2 separate regions of the Homo sapiens genome follow, and region 1 is linked to region 2. Evidence: promoter capture Hi-C in 16 types of primary human blood cells and fetal thymus (Javierre and others, 2016). All regions are on one chromosome and are shown on one strand. The core of a region is centred on a gene start or on the middle of the fragment in contact, and the rest is flanking DNA. Distances in the headings are between cores, read along the strand shown. Region 1 has its middle 20 kb from the start of NDUFAF4. Region 2 holds the start of KLHL32 (kelch like family member 32).

Region 1 (4,464 bases), core at 1,627-4,126, 47 kb after region 2:
GTTGTTATGGTGATAGCAAAGGAGAGGAGGCTGAGCATGTATGGTTCAATGGAGGTTTTGCTTTAAGGAGAGGGAAGTAGTAGGCTCTAGAAGGTCCACTCTCATTAAATGGTCTTGGCTATCATGTCACCTGTATCTATGATGCTGGTATATGTTCCATACACAGCAAATACACCCAAGAATCCTCAAAACATAAGAAAAGGAATATGACATCCGTGCTTGTTTTCTTCCATCTAACTAGCCTCTGCCATCACTTAAACCTCCTGACTTGCATCTATAGTCCCATCCCAGAGGCAATACTGGTACATTACCTCTATTCTACTCTTTGTTAACAGCACTTAAAGTTTTCAAAATTATTTCTCCAGTTCTATCACTTACACATCTGGTTTTAACAATAATAATTAAAACACGAGTAAATATCTAACCATATTTAACCCTTCTTATTCTTTATGTCAGTTCAAATATTGTTTCTACTGACTTTGACTTCAAGCAGAATTAACTAATCCTATTGGTTTGGTCTCATAGAGAGACCTGAGATTCTAGAAAATGTACATGTTACCCCCAACCCCATACCTAACAGTTTTGAGTGAGAGGGATTTGAGTGGCCAGACGTCATATAGGGGCTTTCCTGAACTCTCTCCTTCCCAGCTGATTGTGATAGAATGTCTTTTTTTTTTTTTTTTTTTTTTGAGATGGTGTTTTGCTGTTGTTGCCCAGGCTGGAGTACAATGGTAGGGTCTTAGGTCACTGCAACCTCTGCCTCCCGTGTTCAAGCAATTCTCCTGGCTCTGCCTCCTGAGTAGCTGGGATTACAGGCTCCTGCCACCACACCCGAATAATTTTTGTACTTTTAGTAGAGACAGGGTTTTACCATGTTGGCCAGGCTGGTCGTGAACTCCTGACCTCAGGTGATCCACCTGCCTTGGCCTCCCAAAGTGCTGAGATTACAGGCGTAAGCCACTGTACCCAGTCTGATAGAATGTCTTTTTAAACAGACACCCTATCAGTCAGAACTTGGAGGCCATACAGTGCCCCTTCAAACAATTATGGGTATGAAAAATGAAAAATAGCCTCCCCCACACTCCCTGCTATATTAATTTAGGATTTGGAAGGAAGCTGGGAGGGGCTGGTCTAGATTTTGTTCTGGCCTACTTGAAACATCAAAGAATGAGACAAAGCAATTGGACACAACAGTATTAAAAACATCTTTGGTCAAAAGGTGAAGGTGGAGCAGCAAAAGTTTATCCTTTATCTTCTGACAATGGTCCTTCCTCATTGTCAGAGAGAGAAGGAAGGTAGGTTTCTTTTTGAAAAGGAAGACATAAAACGTTGTCAAGAATTTGAGGAAGGCAGTTTGAATTTTTCCTTGGATTTTCAAGAATCCTATTTGCATATATTAATACTTTTACTTATTCTAAAAATAAAAGAGGAAAATGATAGTTTTGAGGCTGGGTAAGCCAGGGATGAAGATACAGCTAAAAAGGTTTTAAAGTAATGCACATATCTGCAGCAGTCTTGATTTACTTTCACTGATATGTCAGAGAGGATGGAGAAAGGAGATTAAGCTATTTTCCTCCTCCAGGACTCAAACTCCTCTCTTTCCCAGCAATCTAATTTTCCTTTTTCAAAATTCCAACTTCGTGTTTATTTTTTTCAATGTAGTATACAATTTAGCCGATCATTTATCCTTCCTCATTCATCATGTTGTATACTTAGCTTAATAAACATCTTATTCTCAGAAGGATTCCAGAAGAAACTGAAGTCACAGAGGCTCATTTCCTTGCTTTACCTCAGAACAACACAGTAATATTACCTAGATATTTCTATTTTTACCCTATAATGAGGACACTCAATCTAAAATTGCACACAGCCCTGAGCTGCTACATTTTTGGTTCACTTTAACCTGAATAAGGGCTTCAGAGTTTGCTGAAATCAGATTCATGCCATGCTTGTTTCAAGGCAGTACATGGCTTGTTACTCTCAGAATTCAATGTTTATTTCTCATTGTAATGAAAAAGGCCCTCTGGCTGTCTAACCAGCTGTAATTTCTCACTAATCCTGAATAAACATTTCAAACCATAATGAGTCAGTGTTGAATTTTATGAAGAAAATGGAATTAAGAGTCAGAGTAATTTATAGCTGTACTGGCCACCCATTAAAGTTTTTCAACAAATGTGGGTGAAGCAAAAAGATGTAAGGCAAAAAGATGACTGTGGTTTTAAAAAATGTGGAATAACAGCTGAAAAAGATTGATGTTACCCTACTAGACTCCTCTGTGAAAGAAACAGGCAAAACTTCTGTCCTTGCTGGTATGAGACCTCCTACTCCACGGTAAGAAAACCTGCCATAAAGATGAGGTTGGATCCCCCAAAGTGGGCCTACATTTTAACCTAGGAGCTGACCCCGCAGGATCCACCACGGCCCACACCCTCCAACCCTCGAAGATGATGGGTTTTAGCCTGGAAGGAGAGCAACCCACAGAAGGTGATCCCTGTATCAAAGAGGCCTGGGCCCACATGCTCTCTAACCTGCACTTCCTTTGAGACACAGATAATGGTACCTTGGTGAGTGAAACCAGAGCATCAGTAAATTAAGAGCTCTCCTAGGTGTTTTGAAAGATCCTTCTCTGTATCCAATCTTTAATGCCCAGGCATTTGCTTGGGTATTGTCTTCCTGAGTCTCATGAAGTTCCCTTTTTACCCCGTGAAATAACAGGATACATTTTTAAAAAATAATTAAATGACCATTCAACATTTGAGCCAAAAGGAGTCAAATAAAAAACTTAAGCTTTTGAACTTTCCACACTTTCAAAGCTCTAGCCTTGGGACCAGAAAATGGCTTTCTTTGTTTGAAATTGTACATTTGGCTTATTAGTAGAATTTTGAGAAAGATCAGGGAGCCTCAGTATGCTCAATGATGGCACAGGAAGTTGGGCTTCCACAAGAAAGGGGAAAAGAGAAGCTTGAAAATTCAGTTAGTAAGCATGGGTTCTGAAGTGCATGAAGTTTTTGCAAAACCTGAATGCAAAAGCATTCAGCATTACTCCTTGGAGCGGGCACGGTGCCACACATCTTCTGAGTTGCCAGTTTCTCTGGAGCTTCCGTGCTCTCTTAGAGGAGAGAAAATTATGCTTAATTTTATATTCACTGGTTGGATTTCTTAAACCACTTTAAATATCAGAGCAGCATTCTTAACATAAACAGAAATGTTGTTCGGAACTGATTATTTAAATGAGTTTTTCACTTTCACAGGCTGGAACTCTTTCAGGAGATTTTGTTTCCAAAAGAACTTTAGAAAATACTAGCATAGATGTTTCATTAAACTAAGATGTGATAAAGGCCGGAATCCTTCTAAAATTACCGATTATAAATCTTCAGAAAAACGGATGGCTTATACATATCGAATCTGTGCTTGAAAACATCATATTGCCAGAAGGCTGCGACTCAAATTCAGAGTAGAAAAAGAGATGCAAAATGTCTATCAGGAATGTTTAAAAATAATCAGGCTTTTTGGCAGAAAAGTAAAACTGGTCACTGAATTTTGGCTTCTCTAGTATACAACAATACCAACCTTAGATGCTGAAAAAAGACTCTTACAGAATGAATGGTTCCTAGCTAAAGAGAAATTCGATTGTTTTAAAATATACTGACATTTACATAATCTGTTTTGCTTAAAATGGCAGTGCCTTGTTTTAAAATAATGATGTTAGGCTCTTGAAAATGATTTGAATCTTGTATCTGAGGACACTATGATCATAAAATCTGACTCAATGAGGGAAGAAACATGTATCCTCATAGGCCCTACAGAGGAAAGCACCAGACTGACTCAAGTTTTTGCCTTATTTTTTCTCTTAACATTTTATAATGCAAGGGCATGTGTTTCAGGACACTTTTCAGCATCCCACTCCATGTATCTCTTTTTGGAAATTACAGCTGCCCCAGGGAGTGCTATTGTGGGTACCCCTGGAGGGAAGAAGGATTTTATGCAGCGTAAAAAAAGGAAAAACTCTATGTATATGTTTTTGATCTTGGTGTTTCCCTCTTTGACAGTAGATTGGTCTTTTATATTTCTGTATTTCATTAATATAGAACACAGAGAAATTGATCAGTAAATGATATTTATTTATTTATTTGAGTTGGAGTCTTGCTGTGTCACCCAGGCTGGAGTGCAGTGGTGCCATCTCAACTCACTGCAACCTCCGCCTCCTGGATTCAAGCGATTCTCCTGCCTCATCCTCCTGAGTAGCTGGGATTACAGGAGCCCGCCACCACACCCAGCTAATTTTTGTACTTTTTAGTAGAGATGGGGTTTCACCATATTGGCCAGGTTGGTCTCGAACCCCTGACCTTGTGATCTGCCTGCCTTGACCTCCCAAAGTGCTGGGATTACAGGCGTGAGCCACGGCGCCCGGCTCAGTAAATGATTTTTGAATGAATAAATGAACACTTCAGACCATAACAGATC
Region 2 (4,427 bases), core at 281-2,780:
TATTTCCTTGGGTCATTTAACAAGAAGTAGAAAAGATGAACAAATATCCAAGGAAAACAAAATTAATTCTTGAATGCCAGTGGATCTTTACTGGGCCATTTGTTTGTGATGGAGGCATGAAATTCGTGCAAAGTGTAATTACTGGATTGCTGATGCCTTCAAGTACTGTGTTACAAGTTCACCCAATAGACACCCGAGACCTCAAAATAAAACAAAACTGACAGCCCAGGTATTAGGCTGACCTGTTCCATTGGCCTATCAGTGTTCCAGTAGAGGACCCAGTCCCATCAGAAAAAAAACAAAAAGCAAAAACCACTGCACTTTCATATAAGCTCTAGTAAGCCATGGCACACATTTTATATCTATCTCTATCTGTGTATAGAGATAGATCTAAAAATAATCAATAAGAGATTTTTTAAAAAACAGAATCTTCTCAGAAATGAGCAGAGGTGCAAAAAACTGCGCTTCAATACTGATGCAGGGGATATAAAAATGCTAGCAAAGATGTATGTCATGAATGCTACCTTCTTACGTTACGAATTCACAAACGTATTCCTGTTCTGGTCAATTTACAATAGAAGCTCATTCTTGTGTGGGGAAACACAATTAAATCATCTGCTTTTAATTTAAAATAATCACGACTAAGTGAACTGCAAAATAAAACTGGAAATAGAGGGGAAGAAGGGATCTAAACTGCAGTCATCTTTCTTTATAAGATCACCAAAATGGGAGTAAATTATGATTCAAGACACAATCCGTTGAAAAATTCATCTGACGAATCCTTTTTAAAGCATACCATATAGTGCAATTACGGCTTTTCTTGAAGTTGAATGAAACCGCCACCTGAATACAGATTAACAAATGCCAAATTACGAAAGGTCCTCAGTGTATATTTTATTTTAAATATCAAAATAAATAACGGCATCATTTAAGAAACCAGTTCTTTCAATAGATGTCCCACGGCTGATGTTTAAGCAAGTCTCCTTGGCAACCAAGGAGCACAGTACATATTGGGCTCAGGGGGAGGGAAGAAAGGGGGAGCGACTCCAGGGCTGGCAGCATAAGTAACCTGAGTAGTGGCTGCTCCCGTTAGACGACACGGGCAGAGGCTGCATGGGCTGCAAGCCCCTGAAATGTCAACTCCGGGTCTGCCCCCACTTGGCGCACCAGCAGCCTCCCACCCTCTTCCTCAGGTCTGCAGAACAGGTTACAAGGAGAGAGACTGGCTTACCCGATGGGGTGAGCGGTCTGCTGGGTTAGGTGCCAGAGACGGCAGCGCAGGCACCGGCCTCTCCTTGATGCACAATGGCTCTGCTTCGCCCCACGATGCTGAGGTTAACAGAACCCGCAGTAGCTTCGCTCTGCTGGTTCGGGGATGCAGTAGCGAAGACGAGCGTCCTAGCGTGTTTGTGTGTGCGAAAGTGTGTGTGTGTGTGTGTGTGTGTGTGTGTGTGTGCCTGCGTGCGTGTGTGCGCGCGACTGCCTGCGCGCTCCCGAACTGTCGCGCGGGGAAACTGCTCCCTAGTAAATAAAAAGCCCTAGCCAGCACTGCAGGTGGCACGTCCCGCTGACTCCGCCCCAGGCGGTCGCGTCAGACTGGAGACGCACCTTGGCACCCCCGGGGCGGGTTCAGACGCCACAGGGCTCCGCCCCCTCCCGCCTCCAGCTAGCCCGCGCGCTCCCTCCCCCTCCCCCGCGATCCCGCGCACATCCTTTCGCCACCCCGCGCGCAACGCCACCGCCCGCCGCCAGCGCGCTCGCTCCCCTGCCGCCCCCCGCCCCCGCCCCCGCCGTCGGCGAGCTGCCAGCGCGCGCCCGCCGGTCCCGGAAGTACCCTCCTCCACGCCGCCCTCCTCCTCGCTCTCCGGCACCTGCGTCGCCGGCCCCTGGGTCACATGCGCAGTCTGTAGCCACCACTGCGGCGACTGAGACCCGGGAACCCAGCCTGCTCGCCCCCAGACTCCTTTCCCAGGGCTGGCGGGCAATCTGAGCAAACAGACCCCGTGGCCCTAACTCGGTGTTCCAGGGAGTCCTTGCTCTGCTAACTTGTGAAGTTCAAGTTGCCTCTAGTCCTAGCGGCCCTACAGTGGCCCTCCTTAGGATAATACACTCTATGGTACTGACCAGAACAAATTCACAGTAACTTTAAGAAACGTCAGGGGAACCAACCCGCCAGAGGTGGACGAAATCCCCAAGCCTGAGAAATGAGAAAGGGTGTGATTACTGTGGTTACTACTAATTCAGCAATAAAACCGCAAACAGACAACAACCACAGAACCATACCATTAAATTCCAGGGCCTGGCACACTCAAGTGCCACTTCCGAGTCATTCAGGTCACTCCTGTGTAAAACATGCTGAGAAACTCACACTAAAGCAAAGTGGGTAATTTTAATAGGTAAGTATTCCACCACCGAATTGAAAACCTTAGTCCAACGTGGAGGTAAGACACCAGAAGCAGGAAGAGTGTAACTAAATTGGAGTAAACTGTATTTTGTAGAAGTTCAGGATTTAACTTACTGCAAAGATAGTATGTTAATCCTATTTCTTGCAGGTTTATGTTCTGCCACAGAGTTGGGCTAGGAACAGTGCCCTGATCTATTTTGAGGTGTCCTTAATGTTCTCATTGGTCTCAAATCAGTGGTTCAGCGATTATTTTCTACTTCTAGATCCACAGGATTTGGGGGTTTATTCGTTTGCTCCCTCTGGAGGTTATCTGTCTGGCTTGTAGTGCTTCATTTTCATGGTTTTGATATCTGGACGCTAGGATGCTGGGTACCTACTTATCTAGCAGTCCTGGACACAGCATAGGACAAGGGAAAGAATGACAAACAACTGACTACAAACATTAGGTGCAGTGTCATCCTAAGAATTTTTCATAAGCAACTTGATAGTTTTCATTGCGTTGTCTTCTATCAGAAAATCGAATATGAAAGCGTCTTTGAACCAAAAATATTGACAGTGACTGGTATCAATAAATAAAACAGTCCTTTAAGATCCCCAAGGTGTTTGTCACTAAAGTGAGAATACTTAAAATTTTAAGCCCATCTATATTGATTGGATTATCTGTTTAGAATAAATAGCAGCTATTTATTTAGTATAATTAAATAGAGCAAAGACTATAATTGCATTTACACAGGAAAAGAATATTTACACCACCAACTCACCATCTGTGTGACTATGGAAGAGTCTCTTACTGCCCAAGCTGAGTGTCTCAGGGTATCTCCTGGCCCTAGCACAATGTCTGCCACATAGTATCGGCTCACTAAATATTGTTCATTGACACATGGCGTTGAGGTTTAAATGGTAAATGCCTAGTAAAATGTCTAGTTCAGAGAGGGCAAGATTTTCCTAAATGGCTCCTTAGTATTGATTTAAAGTTTATATTTTGTCTTAAGTATTTTATTTCTCTAAAATAAGAGACATTAGTTTATTCAATAGCCACCAAAATTCAACACAAACATATGTTGCAGTTTACTCCACTCCTAGAGGAGCAACTAGGTGTTAGGCACCATTTCTCTCTTAGGTACCATTATATATAGTCTTTCTCCTTATTAAGAAAATGACTTAAAATAATACTTCCCAAAAGCTGTTTTTTGGAATACTTATTATTTGTTCAGCAATTTTTTGAGCTCCTAGAATGTGTTAGGTGGTATAATCCATGTAGGTCTTTTAGTTGTCAATAAATATACATTGTTCCTGTTTCAATCTAGTGATGTTATGAGGGATGAGCTGAAGAAGATTTTTTTTTTTTAAAGTGTGAGTCTTTGGTTGCAACTGAAAACTCTCTGCCTAATTTAGGCAAGAAGGAACTTAGTAGAAGGATATCAGGAGCTCTAAGAATTGATGGGAAGCCTAGCTAGATACCCAGGATAGAAAGCCAGCAGGAGAACTCCAGAGGGCACAGAAGCAGTGACAACAGGATAATATCAGGACAGGAATGTTATGAGATGGTGTCTTCCATTGCTGAAATGGGTGAGTCCCAATTGATTGCTCTTTGTACTCCCAGTTGTAGTCTGCAGCTTCCAGTTGTTTTAGCCTGGAGCATTGGCCTGTCCCTCAGTTGTGGTAGTGTGGGACCCCTGCTCATAGCCCCACTAGATATAAAAAGAAAAGTGGACACTGGGTGGCTGGAAAATAGCATATATTCACTATAGGAAATTGGGTGCCAGGTCAAATGAGTTGGGGAAACACTGAAAACTAGGTTCATGTCACATTGGTATATTAAAGACTGAGGTCTTACACGAAAGAAACCTCTTTCACTTTCTTAAACAAGTATCCTAGAGTTTGGTTGAGTAGGTAACACTTTTTTGTTTTTCTCAGCTTGCCTCTTAATATACTTTGATAAGCATCTTGGAACACAAGTTTCTGCAGCATTTTTTTCATCTATCATCAGCTTGTCCATGAGCCAAGATATAGGAGGGTAGCA

Evidence for each region. Contacts are between HindIII fragments. The CHiCAGO score rates a contact against its expected background, and 5 or more counts as called.
Region 1: a contact is called between a fragment that was not itself captured here and the fragment with the promoter of KLHL32 in region 2, in 1 of 17 cell types (fetal thymus). The highest score is 6.4, in fetal thymus.

Annotation. Positions count from the first base shown.
Region 1 is chr6:96,875,943-96,880,406 of GRCh38, reverse strand. No RefSeq gene overlaps it. Among named protein-coding and RNA genes, the nearest start is that of NDUFAF4, 20 kb to the left of the region's middle. The HindIII fragment of the contact is 174 bases long and covers 2,790-2,963 here.
Region 2 is chr6:96,921,831-96,926,257 of GRCh38, reverse strand. KLHL32 (kelch like family member 32) reads right to left here and starts at 1,530. Exons shown (of 11, transcript NM_052904.4): 1 at 1,232-1,530. RefSeq lists a silencer at 1,494-1,803. The HindIII fragment of the contact is 7,655 bases long and covers 1-4,427 here.